Regions from separate parts of the Homo sapiens genome. Here region 2 is linked to region 1. The links are contacts of gene promoters, found by promoter capture Hi-C in human tissues and cell types (Jung and others, 2019). All regions are on one chromosome and are shown on one strand. The core of a region is centred on a gene start or on the middle of the fragment in contact, and the rest is flanking DNA. Distances in the headings are between cores, read along the strand shown.

Region 1 (4,836 bases), core at 917-3,416:
CTCAAAGAGTCAGAACCTGCCTTTGAATAGGCTCTCTAGGGGATTCATGCAAATGAATGCCTGGAAACCCTGGCCTAGGGGAGACTCTCACCAGGAAGCAGGGCTTTAAAAGGATGGGTGAGGAGTGACACACTGAACAGCTGCTGGGAGGACCAACTCACCCCTCTCAACTTAGATGGGGAAACTGAGGCCCTGGGAACCACGGTGGCTCACACCAGAGAGTTAGCAAAACACACTTCCCTGCCTGGGCTCTGGAGACTGACTTCCCAGGTGCTAGCTTGTCTTCTAGCTGTGTGCCCGTGTGCAAGTTATTCTGCCTCTCTCTGCCTCAGCTTCCCCATCTGTAAGAGCCACCTCCTAGATCTGCATATTTAATCATTGAACGACCAGGACAGGTAAGAGTGTACACAGTGCAGTGCCTGGCACACAGTGAGGCCCTGTAACTAGCTCTTGTTATTAGTGCTGCCCAAAGCCACATTCACAGAAGACAGTCCAGTATCCAAAGTGCCTGCTTGAAGCATGGCCAGAAGGCAAGCAGATGGTGGGGTGGGCAGTGATGTCAATGAGCAAATGCCTGCATCCATCCATCAGTACATTAACTCCTCCTCGAACAACTATGGGTGTTTGTCGAGTAAGGTCCTGGACATTCAGCAGTGAGGGAGAGAGCGGGGGTGGTCAGTGGGCAGAGGCCACTGAGGAATATGGGTACCTGGGCATGGACCCTAGCGCTGCAGTCCACAGACCCCTGGGTCTCCGGCCAGGGGGAAATGAGCTCTTAGTGGCGGGTCTTTCTCTGGCCTGGTATCAGGGGCCTGGGCGGGAGAGCCAGGGCTGCGTGCTGCCTTCCCATGGCTCTCACGCTGGGCACCGGTATGCATCATGCATCAGCAAGGATCCTAGGGCATCTGCGGCCCATACCCTGGGTGGCAGCTGGCCTGGATGCAGCACAGGTTGAGCTCTTGGGGCATAGGCCTCCTTCCCACCTTGTCCCCCCGCTGTATGCCTCCAGGGCCTGTGGGCCGCCTGCACCTGGTCGCCGGCCTTGGGTTCTCCACCGAGCCTGCCTCTGAGTTATCTCCCCTGAGCCCCAGCACCTGCCGCCCATCCGCACTGTCCACCATCCCTGACATTCGATTCCCCCACGAGGCACCTCGCCTGTGCGTGCAGTACCTGTTTTGCTTCCACCCCATTCCCAGCAGCGGGTTCCGCACCTGGGATCGCACGTGAGATTTCCCCCCACCCCCCAACCGCATGCCTGGGCTCTACTACCTGCACCTGCCGCCCCACCCCTGCATCCCGCTCCGCACTTCCCGCGCATAGGTTTGGCCAGGCCCTCCCTATTGAGGCACCTGTTCTCCAAGACAGAGCCGCTGTGTCCCAGGTGCTCTGGGTGCAGGCGCGAGTGGGGATTGAAGGAGGCGCTCTTATTCCACTCTGTCCGGGACAGGGGCGGCTTTGTCCTAGGGCACTCTTGCTTTAATAGAGAGGGCCCGGCCACACCCACGTGCGGGAAGTGCGGGGCGGGATGCAGGGTTGGGGAGGCAAGGGCAGGAAGTAGGGCCCAGGACGCGGTTGGGAGGGCGGGGAAGCTCAGCTCACTTGGATCCCAGCTGCAGGGCCCGCTCCGGGGGAAGCCCCCGAGCTTCCCGGTTCCGAAAGTGTGCAGCCACTGAGAATTTATTAGCCTCGTGGATCCCTAATCTTTCCCCTTTTCTACCCTTTGGTCAGCCGCATTCTAACAAACGGCAAGCACACGCCCCGCTGGGTAGCAGCAACCCGAGAACGCCCCCACCCCCGCCCCCGCCAGACGCCGGTTCCCGCTTGAGAGGGTGAGGGTCCCGAGACCCCTGCGAGGAGGAGGGTCGCGGGGTTCCAGGATGCCGATGCCAAGCAGGAAAGATCACCTCGTTGCTTCTTCCACCGGCCTCTCCGCGAGACATAGCTAAACTTGAACTTGGCATTCCAAGGGTCTGGAAACATCTTCGTGGGACCCATCGAGAGGTTGTTTAAAGACTGGCACCCGCTCCCGCGCCCAGGTGGGGAAAGGGCTGGCCAGAAGTGAAAGTCCGGTCGGGGCGCCACACCTAGGCTGCGGATTCCGAGAGACTGGGAGGCTGGAGGCCTGGGAGGCGTGGCGGGGGCGGAGTCGCCGGGGGCCGGCTTCGCGCACTTCCCGGGCCCGGCCGGCCTGGATGGACTAGCCGGGGCCATGGCCGGCGCGGCGGCGGAGTCAGGGCGGGAGCTGTGGACCTTCGCGGGTTCCCGGGACCCGAGCGCACCGCGGCTAGCCTACGGCTACGGCCCGGGCAGCCTGCGCGAGCTGCGGGCGCGCGAGTTCAGCCGCCTGGCAGGTGAGGCGGGCGGGCAGGCTTGGGGGACACGAGGTTTCTGGAACCGACGTGGACGGATCTTTTGCTCCTAGTGAGAGCGGCGCTACCTCATTCGGGCGCATTTTGAATCGAAACTCCAGGAGGGACGTGTCCACGCGTCCTCCTAGTAGACACGGCTCCCTGAGGTCCCACCTGCAGCCCCAAGGCTTCTTGCTACTCTTACTCTTCCGACTTTCCGGTGGGCAGGACCAACCTAGCCGTCTTCCCCTTTTCCCGCCCTCCGCGAGCGGGGCTTAGGATGGTTCTTGCCCTCTCTTGCGGGAGACCCCTCACTGTAAAGGGCCTGCTGGGGCCGGGGTTGCAAAAGACAGCATGTCCAGCGGCCGTGACCCTTCGGATGTCCTCCCGAGGTAGGAGCGGTGCGTGGACCGCCAGCGCCCGGGCTGGGACAGCACCTCTGACGGCGCGCCAGGTTGGGACCGGGAGGCCAAGGCCTCTTGGCCGGGGCCTCCCGAGGCTGCGCTCTGCAGACTCCTCTGGGATAGCCTGTATTCAGCTTTGATTTTCGAAACCTCATTTTCCTTACTCTTACAGCGTCAGAACAATCCCTCTGAGCTCCAGTTCTCTGGGGGACTAGAAGAATTAGCAAACAGTGCAATTTCACCTTTAAGAACAGGGCGAGCCTGTGAATTAGACAACACCAAGATCACATCGTGCCTTTCCTCAGAGCGGAACAGGCTGATGAAATTGCAAATCAAGCTCCATCTGGCCTTGGCCGACCCAGCCCTCTGCTGCCAGGGCCCAAGTTCGTGACTCATCCCTCTGCCAGGGACTTTGGGTGCAGGGCTTCATCAAGCCCCAGGGCCGCGTGCCGGATGGTCAAGGAGGGTGTGCAGGTGAAGTGGGCACGTCTTGGCACAGGGCACCGGGGTTTGAGTGTATCTGCTCTGTCGCGATGAACAACTGGTGACTGCTCCCCTTCTGGGGGCAGAACAGCAACCATGACTTAGGTTTCACTACTCGGGTAGCTGATTTCAGCGCTTCGGGTCACTTCCTGGTGTTGTGGAGGGTAACTGTGTTTTCCCTTTGGGGGCTGTGAGAACTGTGGCCTCCTCCTGTGTGTCTCCTCTGGCTTCCTAAGTAGGGAGAGTCAGGAGGGAGACGGGGGTGCCTTCTGCCAACCTCTCTATTCACTCCTCATCCTTCCCTCTCGCAGGGTCACCTGCTGGAGACAGCTCCTCACCCTTCTTTCGTATTCTCTCTCTCTCTCTCTCTCTCAACTATTAATTATGGAAATTTCCTACCACTCAGAAATAGAGGGGTACTATGAATGCCTACAGGTGCTGGGGAGGGAGGCTCTCCATTCTTTGAAGCAACTCTTCAAGGCTACCTGAGTAATTATATCAGCACCGCACCTCCTTAATCCCCTAAATCTCCTCCAGCTGTGATCTCTCACGCCCACTATTGGCCAACCTCTCCCCTCAATGCTACCCTGGGAAAGTAGAGCTATGTTCTGGTCCCCTCCTGGTTTCACTCTTGTCCCTCAGAGAACAGTACTTTTCCCCTCAAATGCAAAATTGGGATGTGTCAGCCAGGCTGGCCCTCAGAACTCGTTACCACTTACTGTATGTCTGGTAGTGTTGTGGGCATCTTTTATTTAATGCAAGTTCCTTGTATTTCCTCTACATTACGGTTAAAGCAGACATTTGTGCACTAATCTGACGCCCCTCCCACTGCTGGGAGTCTTGGAACATGTCCACTTGTTTTTCTCCTAGAAACAAGACAGAGAGAGGGCGGGAAAAAACAAACCAAAATAACATCACCTCTTCCTCGTTCCTCCTCTCCCCTCATGAAGTTTTTCTGCCAATTTGAGAATTACTCTGGTTAAGTGGTGGCTCAGAATAATTAAATGCTTAAGATTTAAGTGCTGAAATGTGTTACCTAAAGATTTGGATGGGAACTTCCTTGCCTTTGTGAAGGGAGAGTATTGAATATACGGATGTGTGTCAAGGGTCTCTGGAAGCCTTCGTGCTGAATCATGACCACTCACCATGCTGGAAAGAGAACTGGAGGGGGATGACCTAGAGCTGACCCTGGAATTCTCTTTCCTGAAGAAGGTCTGATGCCATTTAACTTTGGGGTAATTCACCTGTTTCTAATAACAGCTACACCTGTGTCCCGAGCATTGGACTGGATGCTGCCATATAGCAGCTCATTTAACCTTTGTCCCATCTGCAGATGAAAGAACAGGGGCCCAGAATGGCTACTGGTGGAGCCAGGATTCAAGTCTGGGTTGATTGACTTGGATTTTGTACTGTTAACCCCTATGCTGCCTGACTTTCTCCTAACATCACATCTATGGGTGATTTAACACAGCTTTCCCACCCTTTTGTTTTTCCTGCAAAATTAACCATTGGACCAAAAGCCAAAGCATCTTCTTCTCCAATAGCTACTTGGCCCTCCAGAAGACTGTGGCACAGTGTGAGATGCTCCCCAGCAGCTTCCA
Region 2 (4,836 bases), core at 1,183-3,682, 1.0 Mb after region 1:
CTCCGTCTCAAAAAAAAAAAAAAAAAAAGGAGCTGTCATTTCTCAGATAAAAATTTCTTGTCTTCTTTCCCTCTCCCTCCCCCAACCCACAGTTCCCCCTTTTGATCAAAAATCTTTCTTCTTGAAAGCATTGATTGTCAAAATATTAGTATCAAGGTGTCTCTTATAGCCAGGAGGGTTCATTTCTGATTAGTCCCATCCCAAGTCAAGGGGGAAGGGGAGATGTCTCAGTGAGGAATTTTTAGGAGCACCCAAAATCTAAATTGGGATGACATCACAGTGTGGCAAAAAGATCTTAGTGAAATCTTTGATCTATATCACTGCTCTTGCTTGTTGAAACATCTTTAGTCTTTATAATTCCATGATTATAATTTTCTCAAAAGTAAAACAATGAGAGATACATAACATTAGTAATTTGAATGGTAGAAGTACATTGCACACAAGGTTACAATCAAAAAGAAAATCTGTATGCTAAAATGGAAAAATAATCTATTCTACTAGGGTGCCAATGAAAAAACATCATAAAGAAAATTTAAATCAGGTTCTTTTTTTTCTAGAGACTTGTAGCCAGGAAATAATTCAGGATTCAGTCTAAATTGTAGAAAAATAATAAAAGCAGGGCTGGAATCTATAACAGGTATGTTATAGTTTTCTTCTGAAATATAATTTTTCTCTCTCCAGTTCCCCTTTTTTACCAAAGAGAAGTCATAGTAAGGCCAGCTTATTTGCAAAATAAGTTTTAGTCTTACTATACCTGGTATGATTGTTTGCATAAAGGGCAGTAAGAATAGTGGTTGGCCGTATAGTATTCTTTTAAGTTGGCTTTACTGGAACTTTTTAATAAGGAATTTTAGATTAGACTTTTAAAAACCTCTCAAGGCTAAGAAGCAAAGCCAAGGATTCACCATCAGACTGTGCCTGTAATACATGTACAAAATAGGTGAACTCTTCTTGAGGTCCCCAGAATATCTTGAGATTCCTGGCCTATCAGAAAGTGGCATTATTTACTTATCTCAAGGTCAGGAACCTTGTAGGGATTCTGTATTGTATCAGGGAACTGTATTGACAAGGTACTGGACCAGTCTTTTACCAAGTCTGTTGGCTTTCTAAAAGCAACCTCATTTCCTCAAAACAGTCTGGTCACATTTAAAAATATGATATTCGTCAACGCCTTGGTGAAATAACCAGCATTTCCAATTGTGACCTGTTACAATAGAGAACACATTCTTACTGAACTTATGTGAACAACTATATTGCCATAAAATAAGAATACTCATGAATAATTTCCAAATTCTGGAGAAATCAGGCCTAGAGAAAGGTAAATGCTTCCATTTTTTTTTAACAAAAGCATACTTTACCCAGTTGCTTTAAGCTATGAATGGCTCAAAAGAAAATTTTCTTGATTCCAAAAAAACAAATATAAAAAGAATCAGAAGTGTTTCAAATGAAAGGTTATAACAAAATTATTTCAGTCCTCTATCAGTTCAGTCCTATGTAATTAATTCCTGCTCTGCTTTATATTGGGTTGGTAATCTTTGTAAACCCATCAGTTTGTTGTAGTTATTGTTTGTTTGTTTTATTTAGAGTTCTGAAGGGTTTTACCTGGTCCAATGGTATGATCTCCAAAGTTATCACAAACTTGTATTCAAGAGTACTTGTCAGTGTCTTTTCCATGAATTTCCTTGAAGAAAAAGCAAATTTTGGACTGTAGCTAACTGTAAACCACTTTTTGGGAAGAATCATAGTAAAACAATAATTGTCACTGGATGATGAAAGACTTAGAGTAGCCGTGGTTAAAGACACAATTAACAAGGAAATTTGGTGATTTCTGTGGCAAACAACAGTTTAATATAATCATCACCAATATGATTGATGACATATACCAAGACATATCAGAATTTAAGAATATCATACAATTTTGGAATGCATATTAATAACATATTTATATAAATATGACTCAAGGTTAAACACCATTATTATTTGACAATGTGTCTTGCATGATTTTAACGTAAATTTGATTTGGGGAAGTATGTCAAATAGCAAAGGTTTAAAACATTTGATATCAAAAGTAAGATCACAGGTCATTATAAATTAATGATTATTCATTTAGCCAAAGCAATAATTCAAAGATTTCAAAAAGCAAAAACCTTTACTCTTGGACAGAGAAGAGACTCAGTTTTCCCAACAATCAAAGAGACCTAATAAATACAGCATGACACAAACAGAATCTATTTCTCCCCCTTTTCCTTTTTTTTTTTTTAAAGTTTACTCAAAAGGTAAACCAAAATCTTTTATTATATCTTATTAATGCTGTATGAAAATCATATTCAAAAGAGAAAACTAAATTCTACCTTCATATCAATGTATTGTTAATATTAAAACTAATTTTAACAAAACCTTATAAACAGATCCACCCAATCTCAGTCAGCTCTGACCACACAAGATAAGATTTTCATAAACCTTTTATAGTTTTTTCCATTTCATAAACATTTTATAAACTTTTATAGTTTTTCCCATTCTCTTTCCCCAACTTTCTATATCCATTTGGTTTTATCTATCATTCCTTTTTTATTGCTTCAACTTAAAGTAACCTTTAAATAACTTATAAATTACAAAAAAAATCCTCGTCTTTCTTATAACCTTTCTTACCAAAAACACATCTGACTTTTCTTATATATTCTGTATATAGAATGTTTCTATTTTTTAGTAGTTTTAATTACATATATTAATTACAAGGTTAACTCCTAGTAACCCTAATTTTCAGTGAAAAGCCTAGGAAGTATGCAATTTTAATGTTAAGTACCAGGTACAGAGCCCAAGACAAAAGATAGGTCTGTGAGGATAACATCTGGTATATCTGACCCTTCCCAGCATGGCCAGGAGGCACAGCCAGGCCAGGGAGGGCATACTGGTTTGGCTTTGCCCTGCAGCTGTTGGCCTAGGTGCTGTGGTCATACATATGCCCTCAGGCCTTTCCATGGCTACCTACCTAGAACCCAGATTCTTTTTTTTTTTTTTTGAGACGGAGTCTCGCTCTGTCGCCCAGGCTGGAGTGCAGTGGCGCCATCTCAGCTCACTGCAAGCTCCGCCTCCCGGGTTCATGCCATTCTCCTGCCTCAGCCTCCCCAGCAGCTGGGACTACAGGCGCCCGCCACCACACGCAGCTAATTTTTTTGTATGTTTAGTAGAGATGGGGTTTCACCATGTTAGCCAGGATAGTCTCGATCTCCTGACCTTGTGATCTGCCCGCCTCGGCCTCCCAAAGTGCTGGGATTACAGGCGTGAGCCACCACGCCTGGCCGGTGAACCTAGATTCTAAGAGAGCTTTAAGACATAAGCTCACAGACAAGGACGTATCTAAAAATACCAGAGAAGCAAGAGTTTTATGACCTTAAAACATCTAGCAGAGACAACCTAAACCTGTCAAACCAGTAGACTCAGGCAAAATGTTTGAATTATATTTAATACTGACAATTCAGAAAACATGCCTATTTTATTCTAACAATTTTTAAACTAGTTTTATTTACCAAAGATTACTAAGTCACGTGAACTTGAAAAGTATTTGGGCTTATTTATGAATGCTCATTTATTTATAAGTCAATTTGGTATCATAGACAATATACAAACAGACATGTACACAGGTATACATAAAAATACAAAGACTTTATAGCTTTGATTTTAAGTTTTTAGTCATAAAACCATTAAAACTCCCCAGTTTAAAAGGATAGTTGGATTCAAACTGTGCATTTGTAAATGGAACAGGCTAAAGTCTCACATGGCCAAAGCCCTTACTGAGTTTTAGAGCATAAGGTAGTAAATTTATATTTCAAAGCACAGAGAAAGAGTTTAAGCTTTCCAAAAGGCCAGTGAAGTTTTATATTTTTTTCACTAAAATCATATCAATATGAAAGGAAGCAGAGAGACCAAACACATAATTAAAAAGGAGTTTCAGTCAAAAAAAAAAAAAAAAAACACCTCTCAAGAAACAGGATCCAAAAGAGAAAATGCAGAAAGGCCTTTAAAAAAAAGTATACCCTGAATATCAGCTTTTAATTAAGCTGACTTCTGAGCATAGAGCTTTTTTTAAAATTCTTTTAAAATCTCTTTATCAGAATTCAGCCAGGACAAACAACCACTATTTATGGCTTTTGACCTTGTTGTTGTTGTTGTTGTTGTTTTAAACCAAAGGCACCTTCTCAAGAGACTCAACAAAACCAATAAGCCTTAACCAAGGTTATGCCTTTACCAAGGACGCACAAGTCATCTCCAAAGAGGTGCAGTGCAGTCCTCAATAGATCCAGAAACAGTCCCAAAGACAGCTGAAAGAAAGCAAAGTCTCACTAGCCAAAAATGGGGTACAACCCACATTTCTGTCCAACCATATCATCTGGGATCTCAGCTCCTCAGCTGACTGACTGACTACACATTAAGGCCAGAAGGAGGACTGAAAGAGGCAGTAAAACAGGAGAACAAAAGCTGCCGTGGGGATAGTGCCAAAGGTGGGAAAATGTGAGAAGGTAAGTTTATGGGAAGAGTAAAGTCTGCTCCTAGATTCTCTGGGGCTGTCTCTAAGCTAATAAGCAAGCCTTATAAAGGGGTCTCTCTTTAGGTGGGAAAAGACAGGCAACAAAACCCATTTCTTTCTAAATTTCTGTCCTGCCATCAGACAAACAAGGGAGGGGACAGAATGTTCCCATGCATTTTCAACATTTTTAGCTCAATAATCCCCCATATTTTAGAGAGGAACAGTTCGGTTTTCTTCAGTAGAAAGGACACAAATAGGTACTCCAAAAGGTCAAAAGTCATGCAAATAATTTAAAACAAATAATGCAAGTT

Evidence for each region. The method cuts DNA at HindIII sites, captures the fragments that hold promoters and counts their contacts. A contact is called where the count stands out against the background at its distance.
Region 2: a fragment that was not itself captured here is called in contact with the fragment with the promoter of MOCOS in region 1 in 1 of the 25 tissues and cell types used here (dorsolateral prefrontal cortex).

Annotation. Positions count from the first base shown.
Region 1 is chr18:36,185,331-36,190,166 of GRCh38, forward strand. MOCOS (molybdenum cofactor sulfurase) reads left to right here and starts at 2,167. Exons shown (of 15, transcript NM_017947.4): 1 at 2,167-2,351. The coding sequence starts at 2,210. It overlaps COSMOC (cell fate and sterol metabolism associated divergent transcript of MOCOS), which reads right to left and starts at 2,105. Exons shown (of 2, transcript NR_134605.1): 1 at 1,905-2,105. RefSeq lists an enhancer at 389-1,211 and silencers at 1,971-2,234, 2,080-2,269. The HindIII fragment of the contact is 25,317 bases long and covers 1-4,836 here.
Region 2 is chr18:37,200,809-37,205,644 of GRCh38, forward strand. The region is part of intron 9 of KIAA1328; the gene reads left to right. Among named protein-coding and RNA genes, the nearest start is that of SNORA111, 260 kb to the right of the region's middle. The HindIII fragment of the contact is 4,141 bases long and covers 363-4,503 here.